2 separate regions of the Homo sapiens genome follow, and region 1 is linked to region 2. The links are contacts of gene promoters, found by promoter capture Hi-C in blood cells and fetal thymus (Javierre and others, 2016). All regions are on one chromosome and are shown on one strand. Each heading gives the region's core, a stretch centred on a gene start or on the middle of the fragment in contact. The rest is flanking DNA. Distances are from core to core; before and after follow the strand shown.

Region 1 (6,632 bases), core at 3,446-5,945, 660 kb after region 2:
GATACGTCTTGTGCCACCTTGTTTCCCTTATAGTTTCTGAATTTACTCATGTCCTCTATCAGTACACTCCATCCGCTCGGACTGCTGGGGTTCTCCATCCTCACCCCCAAGAGCAAACAAAACGAAAGCCAGCCTGCTGCAGGCCACTTAGATATCCCGCCAGTTGGCACTGATTAGTAACAGGGACAGCATCATGGTGCTGGGTCCAGTTTTGCAAGTCTTGAAAACCTGACACTATCTTGTGGCTGCGAAGAGATCCCCCCAGCTGTGTTTTTTTAGGGTTGTATTTGCGTCCTGTGGCTTCTATTCCTCAGACTAGGGTGGAGATGGGGTGCCCTGTAGTTACGAGGCACCCCTGCCTCAGGAGTCAGTGTGGAAGAGGGTTGGGCATTAATCTTAGCCCCTTGTCCTTACCTTGGTTACAGGGGTACAGGGTGTATCTGAAGTGGAGAGGCCACCCTTTGCCCATCTCTACGCCTCCCACTGAGCCCTAGTGAAACCAACTGTGAGTGCTCTTGACTGCCCAACCGCCAGTCTAGATCAGATCCTCTGAGGGTATGAAAGGGTAAGCTGGTTTGTTCACTGCTTCCCCAGCTTCCACTTCCACATAACTCACCAGTATCTTTGAGTGAAGAAAGATGTGGGTGCCCACGGAATCTTAGCCTAACTTGGACCCCTGTGAGCCAAAGATGACCTGGAGTTCAGCCCACTGGAAGCGCACACCAGTGCTGGCAGGCACGCGTTTGCTGCAGACCATCCTGTTAATGTTTAACCATCAGCCGCCACATTACCTGTTAGTCTGGAACATTTTCTTTCATCCTGGTTTAGAAAGCTGCCCTGTGATCTTCCCATAGTGGTTCCACAGTAGCGAAAGCAGCCGGTAACTGAGGGAGCTGAGGGGGAGCCCTTGGGTTTCCATGTTTACAAATAAGTCTTAGTAACTCCGTGCTGGATGTGCATTTTGCATTCAGCTTCTTTATCATAAGGGAGGAACAAAGACTGGGGCTCCTGCTGACATCTGCAGACACAAAGCTGAGTCGGAATTTGTGGTCTTAGCTTCGGTTCAGCACCAAGTGTATTTATAAGTTTGCAGTCATAGGTTTTGTTGTCCAAATCCCAACAAAGCCCTTTCCCACCTCCACCCCACCCCGGAAGTTATATAGGGTTCCTTGAAGGGACAAAGCCTCTAGAAAAAGAAAAGTCACTGAAAGTTGTAATGTGAAACCAGCAAAGAGAAAATACATGTTTGGTTTAGTTGTGGTCACAGTCCATGGTGAGAAAAGGGACTGAGATTTAAGTGGGAGGGAAAAGTTTAGGGAGGCAGAGTTTAGTGATTTCAAGGAGGATTTTAAAATGCAGATGAGCATGATGGACATGGGGTGAAGCCTTCATTCTGGGTTCCCCCCCCCCAGTGAAGTTTAAAAAGTGAGGCTTTGAAGGAAGACCACTTAAAAAAAAGGGGGGGGGGGAAGGAAATGACCAAGGAGGTCCTTGAGGGGTTTTCTAGGCTTGTATGCCTAGGTGGCATTTTCTTAAAATTCCTACACATGTTTTATAATGTAGGTCTGACATTTTTCAGTCTCATAAAGTCCCCCAAAAGAATGCTAAAAATGCCACAGTGGGGGCAGTTCTCCCTTAAAGGTCCATTTTGAATATTCAAATTTCAACTGAAATTCTTCATTCACTGTCCTGGACAGAGAGGCAGCCTGGCCCCCTCTGCCCTTGAGGGATATGCCCTTGGTCCTTCCTCCGATGATGCCCCGTCTTTGTGTTTGTAGGCACCTACATAGGGCTGTTTTTAATTCGTATAAACATGAAAGTGTTTAAGCTCTCCCTTAATGGTGGCCGCCTTTACCAGCCCAGAAGTCCCACATGTCAGCATGGACTACACCTCAGGAAACCCTCTCCATCCTCAGATGCTTTGGGTGGAGTGCAGACACAGCAGCTTCCCCTGCAAAGGCACCCCTGCCAGGTCAGATAATTACTTAGGTTGGTAGTCTGTCACAGTGGTTGAGGCTCATTTAATTTTTAGGAAGCAATAGATCTTTAATTGTTGAGCTGACTAGGGCTGTCTCCACAGTCCTGTAGGAGGAGCTGCGGGTTTATTATCTACCAGGATTCCTTCTGCTTCCTCTAACAGTTTTCTTAGTTGTTGAACAACACAAACCGAGGGACTGATGGGGAGAGGGAAGAACTGCATATTTTTAAGGTAGCATTGCTTATAAAAAGTCATCAGCTCAGCTACCTGCATTTGGGAGTCTGGGTGTTGAGGGCGGGGATTTATACAGCACCTGGCCTTATAAGTTGAGTATTCATGATAGGTGAAGAGGTGAAGTTTTTTGTTCATGAGAATCACTAATGAAAATCAGTTGTTTAGAATGTGAAGGGCACAGCCTACACTGCTAAAACACTCCCCCTAGTGGGAGTTTGGTAGAATACAACCAAGCCCCCTGTGTCCAAAGAGGGAGTTGGCCTTTCATTGTACTCCGGGTGATCTCTCTCCATTATCCGCGCAAAGGAAGGGCCCGAGAGCAGGAACAATTTGATCTTATATTTCTTTGGGTTTTGTTTCAAAATTTATTTTACTTTCTTTAAAGCTCTATCATGTTAAATATGTTCTGTGCAGTTAAAATAATGCATGTTCTTTGCTGAAAAAAAAAAAATAGAAGTGTAGTCTAGGATATACTGGGGACAAAGGGGAAGTAACCAGAGATTAAACCTTCTTTTAAAAATTACCAGTCGGGCGTGGTGGCGCATGCCTGTAATCCTAGCCCTTTTAGAGGCCGAGGAAGGTGGATCACCTGAGGTCAGGAGTTCTGAGACCAGCCTGGCCAACATGGTGAAACCCTGTCTCCACTAAAAATACAAAAATTAGCTGGGCATGGTGGCTCACACCTGTAATCCCAGCTACTTGGGAGGCTGAGACAGGAGAATCGCCTGAACCCAGGAGGCAGAGGTTACGGTGAGCTGAGACTGCACCACTGCACTCCAGCCCGGGTGACAGAGCAAGACTCCATCTCAAAAAAAAAAAAAAAAATTACTTACAAAGGCCAGCCACAGTTGCTTATGCCTATAACCTCAGCACTTTGGGAGGCCAAGGCAGGAGGACCCCTTGAGCCCAGGAGTTCGAGACCAGCCTGGGCAACATAGGGAGACCCTGACTCTAGGGAGGGAAATTACCCACAAAGCCAGCAAACAAATTGAGCGTTCTGTATTTTTATTGTAGAGTTTATACCAATATCCATTCTATAGATGCTCTCTGTTGAAATGATTCAAGAAAAACGAACATCTAGTTTTTCCTTGGAATGTGGCCCAGACATTGGTGTGCATATCCCAGGACTCATATTCTTTAAGCTTTTGGATAATTTTGCAAAATCATTTCTTCTTTAAAATGTTATATTCACACCATAATATTTCTTTCTGAAACCTCTTGAGATACCCAAACAGTGGCTGCCAAAAAGTGCAGTCAGTGTAAAACTAATGAAATGAAATGATGTAAGTAGCCGCGTTATGCAGATGGCTGTGGGTAAAGCCTAAAGCCCCAAGCAGGTGTGAACAGTAGGTACTGTCTCCTCAGACCTCAGGACGGGGCAGAACCAGCTCCTTACCCCAGCCCTCCTGACCGCCTTGATGGCAAATCATCAAGCATGTGACATTGAGGAGGTGTGATGGATGCAGGTTGACATTGTAGTTACACCTGATCACGTCAAGTGAGAATCCAGGTTAGGTGCGTGAATCTGCTGGCTCAAGGACTGCAATCACATCTGGCCTATTGAGGGAGGGGCATCTCGTACTTGTGCCATAAAACAATGACTTTCATCCACCCAATTATCAGAGGAACTTGAATCCCTGCAGTAATAAATCAGACAGTGGCCGGGCACGGTGGCTCACGCCTGTAATCCCAGCACTTTGGGAGGCTGAGGTGGGTAGATCGCCTGAGGTCAGGAGTTCGAGACCAGCCTGGCGAACATGATGAAACCCCATCTCTACTAAAAATACAAAAATCAGCTGGGCGTGGTGGTGGGCGCCTGTAATCCCAGCTCTTGGGAGGCTGAGGCAGGAGAATTGCTTGAACCCGGGAGGTGGAGGTTGCAGTGAGTGGAGATCACACCATTGCACTCCAGCCTGGGCGACAAGGCGAAACTCCGTCTTGAAAAAATAATAAAAACTAAATCAGACATAGGATCTGCAGCTAAATAATAGGTCCCACCAGCTTCCAATGTACTGTCGTAATGCATAATTTTAAGAAGTTATTAAGTCTTCTTTCAACCTTAGTAAAGAGAAGGCCTTTTGACACTGTTTGATGTGAATATTGCAGCCGTGCCATCCCTTAAAAGGACTGTTGAAAACTGATAGGCTTTCCACATACAGTTTTACTGGGTGGAATGGACAGATAGGAACAAATCAAGAGGCAGGAAGTCAGGGTAGGTGAGATGCCTGGAACCCAGAACCCCTTGTCTTCACAGGCACCCACAGCCCTTCACAGTCCGCTCCCCTCACTGTGTGCTGTTGCCAAGCCTGGCATCAAGGGTGCCCTTCCTTTGAAAGATTCCACCACCCCTGGGAGGCTGACAGCTAGGAAGCCTACAAGCTTGCCTGCGCCCCCTTGGGTCTCTGCAGCCTCCACCTGGAGATGAGCGTCAGGCAAGAGTGTGCATACCATACACACACAACGCAGGCTTGGGGTCGTTTCCTGTGAAACTCATCAAGACCATGCTTTGGAGGATTAGGGGTAGGGGTGGTCCTGTGTATGTTGCATGTTTGTATGATCTCTTTGCACTGGAAAAATAACTTATAACTCAAGCTTCCTCAACTTCCCTAGCGCTGCGAGTCTCTGGAATGCACCCCTCTCCTATCTCGCAGCCCCTGTCTGCCCTGCCTGAGTCACTCACACCTTCCTGGGGGCGGGGGCAGTGGAAGCCAGGGGTTCAGGGGCACAGCCAGCCCTGGGAACACACCTGAGGTGATGTGGAGGCTGCTTTTGCCTTTCTTCACGTCCCCAGGGTCATCTTGGTCCTCCTGGGGGATGTAACAGGTGGTGAGGATTTGGGCCGAAAGAAGTCCTCACTGGTTTGGGGTTCAGGCTGCTGGCGTGGGTCTAGCCCATTCCCGGCGACATCCCTGGCATGGGCGTACCTGGTGGTGCCCCTCTGAGCCCTCCCCGCTGTGCTTGCCCCACAGACAGTCAGTCGGATGCGGAGACTGCAGCCGCCGCGGGCGAAGTGCTAGACCTCACCTCACGGGACAGAGAGCAGCCGTCGGAGGGCGCCACTGAGCTCCGCCAGGTCGCAGGGGATGCGCCTGTGGAGCAGGCCACGGCGGAAACGGCCTCGCCGGTGCACCGGGAAGAGCACGGGCGTGGGGAGAGCCATGAGCCGGAGGAGGAGCATGGCACTGAGGAGAGCACTGGGGACGCCGACGGCGCGGAAGAGGACGCGTCGAGCAACCAGAGCCTGGACCTGGACTTCGCCACCAAGCTCATGGACTTCAAGCTGGCGGAGGGCGACGGCGAGGCAGGCGCCGGGGGCGCGGCCTCGCAGGAGCAGAAGCTCGCCTGCGACACCTGTGGGAAGAGCTTCAAGTTCCTGGGCACCCTGAGCCGCCACCGGAAGGCGCACGGCCGCCAGGAGCCCAAGGACGAGAAGGGAGATGGCGCCAGCACTGCAGAGGAGGGGCCCCAGCCCGCCCCTGAACAGGAGGAGAAGCCCCCCGAGACCCCGGCAGAGGTGGTGGAGTCGGCCCCGGGTGCCGGGGAGGCCCCGGCGGAAAAGCTCGCGGAGGAGACGGAGGGCCCCTCCGACGGGGAGAGCGCGGCCGAGAAAAGGTCCTCAGAGAAGAGCGACGATGACAAGAAACCAAAGACAGACTCCCCCAAAAGCGTGGCCAGCAAGGCAGACAAGAGGAAGAAGGTCTGCAGCGTGTGCAACAAGCGGTTCTGGTCGCTGCAGGACCTGACCCGGCACATGCGCTCCCACACAGGTAACCAGGGCAGGCCAGGTCCCCGGCCCAACAAGAGGAGGCGAGCCGGGCACCTCTCCTAGGAGCTCCCCTGAAGCGGCGCTGGAGGCCACCGAGAGAACGTTTGCTTACGTTGCCGGTGTGCCCTTTAAGCCCGTGAACTAGGAGTTTTAAGGAGTTGTACTCTCAGCCCTTGAAGACGGTGCAGGCCTCCTGCAGCCAGGCAGGAGAGGGTCCTTGGCCGTTGTGTTTTTGAGAACGCTGTGATCCGCCTTTAGCTCTGCTGCCTCCGCCTCCCCATCTGTAGAGTGGGGGTAACAGCTGCCCTGTTTCATAGAGGTATCTAGGAGAGGGTGCTTGTGCTGGGCATTTGGGCCACTTAGTCCTGTCTAGTCCTGTGGCCTGGACGACAGGCACTGCCCCAGGCCGCTGTGGGGCAGGCACCCTGGGTGATCCATTAGGGTCAGGAGGGCCTTTTCCTTTCTTAGCCGTGCAGTTCGGCTGAGATGACTGGGACAGGACCCTTAGCCACTGCCCTTCACACCGTTCTAGAGTTCACCCACCACCTGCAGGGTGGAGGCTGCAGACCCCAGAGCAGGGGCGCTTACTTTGACACAAAGACCTGAATATGCTCATGGAGTCCAGAGATATATCCTTCTTCTTTCCAAAATAAC
Region 2 (6,467 bases), core at 1,520-4,019:
TAAAGGTTCTAGTTAAAGAACTCCAGACATCATTATGGGTTGATTTCTGAACTAGACGGCCATAACTAATGATTTCAATCAAATCCCATTTTCAGTAGGCAGAACTAGTAAGTAGAATTCCTTAGAGAATGTGGCTTACTCTTAATCCTATATGGGTATGTTATATATGTGTTATATAAAATGCCATCTGTCATAAAACAAAACATTTTATTAAGAAGATTTTTTTTAATTGTACATTCTGCAAATGATCAAATTCTGTAAGCTAAACCAGAGGTCCTCAGAATGTGGCCCCAGATCAACAACACTGGCATCACCTGGGAACATGTTAGAAACACAGGTTCTCAGGCCTCACCAGACACACAGGAGCAGAAACTCTGGGGTGGGGTCCAGCAATCTGCATGTTAACAAGCCCCCCAGCTGACGCTGATGCCCTGAAGACCACTCTAGCCTGAAGACCAATGTCCTAGGGTCACCATGATCACAAGGTTCCTGATTGGTCCATTTGGAATATTTCTAAATGCTAGTGCGATCCCTGAATTATGATTCCTTTCATTTCCAGGTCTTTTGATTCTCAAGAATCTGTACCCCTGTCTTCAGATGACACTGTTTCTGCAATAAAGCCAATGTTTGTGGCCCTGCCCAAACTCATATGTTGAAATCCTAAGCCTCAAGGTGATGGTATTAGGAGGAAAGGCCTTTGGGAGGTGATTAGGTCATAAGAATGGAGCTCTCATACATGGGATTAGTGCCTTTATAAAAGAGGCCTAAGAGAAACCCTTCGCCCCTTCCACCATGTGAGGGCACAGCCAGAAGGCACCATTTGTGAACCAGAGGCCCCTCACCAGACACTGAATCTTCTAGCACCTTAATCTCCAACTTTGGACCTCCACCCTCCAAAATGGTGAGAAATAAATGCTTGTCATTTAAGCCACCCAGTCTAAGGTATTTGTTATGGCAGCCAGAACATACTAAGACCATTTCCCTGCCACAGCTGCCCACAGCTCTCTGCTAGGTTTTCTGCTCCCTGCCCTGCACTCCTGGACTCCTCCTCCAGTGTCAATCATGACGCACTTTGCAGGGAAGGAAGTTCTCACCCTCAATTGCTCTCCTCACTCACATATGTTCAGAGCTCTCTTTACAACTGCTGGAGCACTCACATATCCCAAGGGAAAGCTTCTGTGTTCCATCCTGGACCTTCTAGGGGCTACCACGCTTCCACCAGGGCCGCTGCTCTCACCATAAGCTTCAGACTCTCATCTCCCGAGATCTTGCTCACAGCGCAGCTGCCTTCCGCTCACACAGGCCAGAGGGGCCACCTTGTCTCTTCTTAGAGCAACTTCCCACCACTCCCTTGGGGCTCAACCTTCGCTTTATGTTCTGTAAAAGCCAGCAGTTCTCAAACTTGAGACTGCATCAGGCACACCTGGAGGGCTTGTGAAAATCCAGAATGGTGAGTCCCGCCCCCCAGAGTTTCTGATTTAATAGGTCTTGAGTAGCCCAGAATTTGCATCTCTAACAAGCCCCCAGTGGAAGCTGAGGCTGTCATCTTCCCAGGCCGCACTTTGAGAACTGCTGTTGAAAGCCATCATCACTGAACTTATTTGCAGAGGTACCTAAAAATAATCAATCCACAACTGTTCCTTCTCCAAATGACCACTCTCTGATGTCTATCAAGAAATCCAAATTATTTACCAATTAATTTATTGGTAATTATGTTCCACCTATTTCAAAAAAAGTTTTGAGCTAACTCTAATTTTTGCTTAGCCATCAGCAGAAATAGTAAATTTACCTAGTGCATTCAGAAAAATGCTGTTCCTCCCAGGGAAAATAGTGTTTTCTATTGCTCCTGAAATCTGCTGACCTTGGCACTGACTCTGGTCCTCTTACATTAAGGTGAAGCTGGGGCGGGGTTGAGGAATCAAGACTGAGAAACCTTGCTGTCCTGCAGCAGAATAGAGATACATGGAAGAAGGAAGACAGAATCTTGGCTTTGAAGAGAAAGTGAGATGTGATGTCAATGATCCCACTAACACCAAAACCAGCAAACCAGCCTCCTTAAGGGTGGCCCCACCTCCCCACCCTTCCTACTTTTTCTACCAAGCCAAACCCAGAAATAGAACACGGCTCACTTCTCAGGGCTATTGCCTCTGCCTCATCTCCAGAGACCACATCTGCAGCTCCCAAAACAAGGTCTGTTCTGCAGCTGGACAATTCACTGCTAAAATCCCAAACCTAAGAGCAGAGCCAAAGCCAGAGGAGAGGAAAGTGACAATAGGGCCAAAGCCTCATTCCAGATTCCAAATGTCATTCTGTAGCCCTCGTGCTATCAACTGCTGCCTGCTGGCTGCAGCCAGGTCCCTGGGTCCATACACAGCCTGCATCAAGAGCCTGCAGAGACTCGGGGGCTGGAGATGGGAAACAGATGGTGGCCTGCGCTTTGTCTTTCCCAAGTTTACAGCCTCACCTGGGGGTGGAGGCTGTTCTGAGGGGCCCCCAAGAGGTAAGTTCACGCATCACTACTGACCCTCTCCCTGTGAAAGCAGAAAGTCAGCACGCATCCTACCCCAGACCAGACCAGCCACACCTGTAGATTCAAGGTCCTGGGGGAACAGTATTCAAATGCCTCTGCTCTCAGCCTTTTACTTCTGACTGTGGTTCCCAGCGAGTCTAAAATTTGAGAAGTGAAACTGAACATCCAACTGCCTTGGTGAGGGGAGAGGAAGAAATTTTACAGGCTTTTTATTGGCCGGTTATTTTTCTGTGTGTCCCATACAGGCCCCCACCATGAAGGGTTTCACAGCCACTCTCTTCCTCTGGACTCTGATTTTTCCCAGCTGCAGTGGAGGCGGCGGTGGGAAAGCCTGGCCCACACACGTGGTCTGTAGCGACAGCGGCTTGGAAGTGCTCTACCAGAGTTGCGGTAAGCCCTTGCAGTACACCCATGTGTGTTTATGGGGAAAGCAAGGCCCACAGATGTGAGCCGCTAGTGCTCAGTTGGAGTTGGGGTGGGAGGGGAGAGGGGACCAGCAGCTGAACACTTTCTCCACCTGCAGCAGGTCTGGGAGGGCCACTGGGAGCTTTTGGAAGAAGGAGCGGTGGGGCCAGGACTGGGAGCGGAAGAGAATGGCAGAACAACAAAGAGTACAAGAAAGAGAAATTGAATCTAAATATAGCCATTTACTAACACCACAGAACCCAAAAAAGAACAAAATGATCAGTGAGTCTACCAAATCATCAAACCTCACCAGCTGAAAATTAGGAAAAGCAGCTTCCAGTAGGCCCTTCCTCAACACCGTACACCTGGGCTACCTTTCCATCTGATGTACTTTGCAAGTGAAGTGAAAAGATCACTTCTGCCCAAAGAGAAGATTCCTGTCCCTCTCTGGACACTTTCAGAGCTTTCACTGCAGCAGTAGCTCTCATGAATTCAGCAAGCACTTCGCATGCAGCTATCAATGCCAGGGTTTCTCAGTGCTAGAGATAATAAAAGTGCATATGCCAGGCCTGTCACCCCAGCGGGCCAACCCAATACGCCAACAGATAATTGCAATTCAGTGAAGAGAATGCAGTGAACTGTGGTAAGAAGTGTCAGAACCAACCAATCGGGCTGTGTCTTAGTCAGCTAGGGCTGCCATAACAAACCACCACAGGCTGGGGACTTAAATAACAGATTTATTTCCTCACAGCTCTGGAAGCTGGGCTGGTTTCTCCTGAGACCTCTCTTCTTTGCTTCTAGGTGGCATCTTCTCCCTGTCTCCTCATGTGCTCTTCCCTCTGTGTACATCTGTGTCCTCATCTCCTCTTCTTATAAGTACACAATCATATCAGATTAGGGCCCACCTCCATGGCCTCACTTTAGCTTAATCAGCTCTTTAAAGACCCTATCTCCAGCAGGGCATGATGGCTCACACCTGTAATCCCAGCACTTTGGGAGGCTGAGGAGGGTGAACCACTTGAGGTCAAGCATTCAAGACCAGCCTGACCAACATGGAAAAACCCTGTTTCTACTAAAAATATAAAATTAGCTGGGCATGGTGGCACGCGCCTGTAATCCCAGCTACTTGGGAGGCTGAGGCAGAATTGCTTGAACCCAGGAGGTGGAGGTTGCAGTGAGCCAAGATCGTGCCATTGTACTCCAGCCTGGGCAAGAGGAGCGAAACTCTGTCTTAAAAAAAAAAAAAAAAAAAAAAAAGACCCTATCTCCACATACAGTCACATTCTAAGATACCGTAGTCCCCCCCCAGTCTGCTAGGAATACGTTCCAAGACTCCCAGTGGATGCCTGAAATCATAGATCGTTTTGAACCCTACATATACTATGGTTTTTGGACCCAATAAATGAGACAGCTACTAAGTGACGGACAGGCCGGTAGTAGAGACAACATGGATATTCTAGACAATTCGTGTTCCTGGTGGGCTGGGCAGCACGAGATTTCATCATGCTACTCAGGAGGATGCTCAATGTCAAACTAATGAATTATTTCTGGAATTTTCTATTTAATATTTTTGGACTGCAGTTGGCTGAGAGTAACCGAAACCTTGGAAAGTGAAATCTTGGATAAGGGGGCTGTACTGTACTGGGGGTTGGGACTTCAATACATAAATTTGAGGGGATGCAATTCATCCCATACAGGGCTCCCAAGTGGGGAGCAACTCAGGAGCCCAGCCTCAGGATCACATCTGCTGTTAGAGGGACTGGCTTGTGCAAACGCATGGCATTGTGATATCTGCCACTTTGGAGGGAGATGGGGGCAAAATGCCGTTTGAACTACAGGAGATGGAAAAGAGAAGTTGATTAAGCATCTGAATTGGCCTCACTCTAAGCTGGGGAGTGATGAGGATGCAGTGCTTGAGCAAGTACCTGATCCTACAACTGCCACCCAAAGAGCTGCCCAGAGAGGTCCAGATGGTCACTCTAGTCACCAGGGCCATTTGTTCAATTTGACCTCACTTTTAAAAATAAGGGACATTGAAGTGCACACACACACAAAAATTAAAAATAAGTAAAAGAGAATGAACGACTGGATGCTGGAAGTGCTGATCTTGTCACTCTAGGTTTTCCCATGGCGTCAGGACCACTAGTATCCCATTCATTTTCAGTGCAGGATGAGAAGCAAGATGTGAGATAAATGGACTGGTCAGGGTTGGTTTTTCCAATTCATCCTTGCATAAAGGTTGCCACAGCTGATCTGTCTCCCAGACTCACCCTCTGCCTGCAGCCAGGCTGGTGCATCCTTTCAAGTCACTTGCAAGAGGACTGGGCACGTCAGGGAAAGAACAAGGACACATCACCTGCCCACAGGAGGATGGCTCTTTCCTCTGTAGGTGAAGTTTCCCCATGGAGTCAGTGAATGTCTTAGCCAAGCCACTCAGAATAAGAGATGGAAGAGATGCAGTTCTCATCCAAGGGAGTGGGACGATCAGACAATTAAGCAACAGGGTAAATGCTTTGTGTGAAAGGCTGTAGTGAAGGCAGGCATTGTGCACCAGGGACATAGTAGTCAGACGATGGTGAGGTTGGTATCTGGATCTGTTGGAAAAGGAGTCACCAAGCCTAAGTTGAGGCTTAAAGACTGATGAAAATACTAATGATAACACCTCATGTTGGTGGAGGCCACCAGGCTAAGTACTTTACATGCATCATTCTTATGTTGCAGATGTGTAAACTGAGGGATAAAGATGTTATGACTAGTGAACTTTTCCAAGGCCACACAGCTAATAGTGGCAGAATTATATCCCCAGGGTCACAGAGAAGGTAAGACATTGAGGAACTATTGATGGAATTAAAACAAATTGATCCCCAGCCTGCCTGACTCCAGAACCCATGCTCTAAAACTCCCTGTGGTCTAGAGTTTAATCAGCAGGCAAAGTGGACTAAAGGAGGGGTGAGAGGAGAAGTTTGGCAGAGACAATGACATGCGTGAAGGCAGGAAAATGGGACCAGGCACAGGGTTCAGGGAACTGCGGGAGGGCTGAAAACACAAAGGGCTGAAAGAGGAAGTGGAAGACATGAGCAAGACCCCAGACAATGGCGGGCTGCCTCCCTTTGGCCAGGAGGTTGCATTTTGGAAAGATCCTCGGGCAGTAAGCAGGAGTGTAGATTTTGAATTGGAAGCTATTTGAGGCTGAAAATAGGGTTTTCTCCAGGTGGAGCAATAATTCAGGAAAGAAACCACTAAGGCCTAAGTTGACATCATTTCCGCAGTCTTGATAACCTTGAGGAGAAGGGAAACTTCACAAGCAGTTACTGGGCTCTGAATACTGACTAGGAAGTAAGCAGTTTTCTGAAAAAGCAGAAGTCCTGGCCTGGCCAACTGTCAATGACACAGGAAAGAAGAGAGCCACTGTCTTTACTAAAGCAAAAGGAGGAGCAAACACAGTCAGGGCCTTGGGTTTGCTAAATCACGAGTCCCACGGTTACAAAAGCCCAGAGACTCCACTCCATGCACAAACCACAAACACCCACCG

What was found. The method cuts DNA at HindIII sites, captures the fragments that hold promoters and counts their contacts. A CHiCAGO score of 5 or more calls a contact.
Region 1: a contact is called between a fragment that was not itself captured here and the fragment with the promoter of LY86 in region 2, in 1 of 17 cell types (naive CD8 T cells). The highest score is 6.7, in naive CD8 T cells.

Annotation. Positions count from the first base shown.
Region 1 is chr6:7,241,243-7,247,874 of GRCh38, forward strand. It overlaps RREB1 (ras responsive element binding protein 1), which reads left to right. Exons shown (of 13, transcript NM_001003699.4): 12 at 5,182-5,979. Among named protein-coding and RNA genes, the nearest start is that of SSR1, 69 kb to the right of the region's middle. The HindIII fragment of the contact is 213 bases long and covers 4,590-4,802 here.
Region 2 is chr6:6,585,951-6,592,417 of GRCh38, forward strand. It overlaps LY86 (lymphocyte antigen 86), which reads left to right and starts at 2,770. Exons shown (of 5, transcript NM_004271.4): 1 at 2,770-2,920. The coding sequence starts at 2,785. All of the region lies in intron 1 of LY86-AS1 (LY86 antisense RNA 1), which reads right to left. RefSeq lists enhancers at 1,067-1,156, 1,167-1,296. The HindIII fragment of the contact is 13,475 bases long and covers 1,242-6,467 here.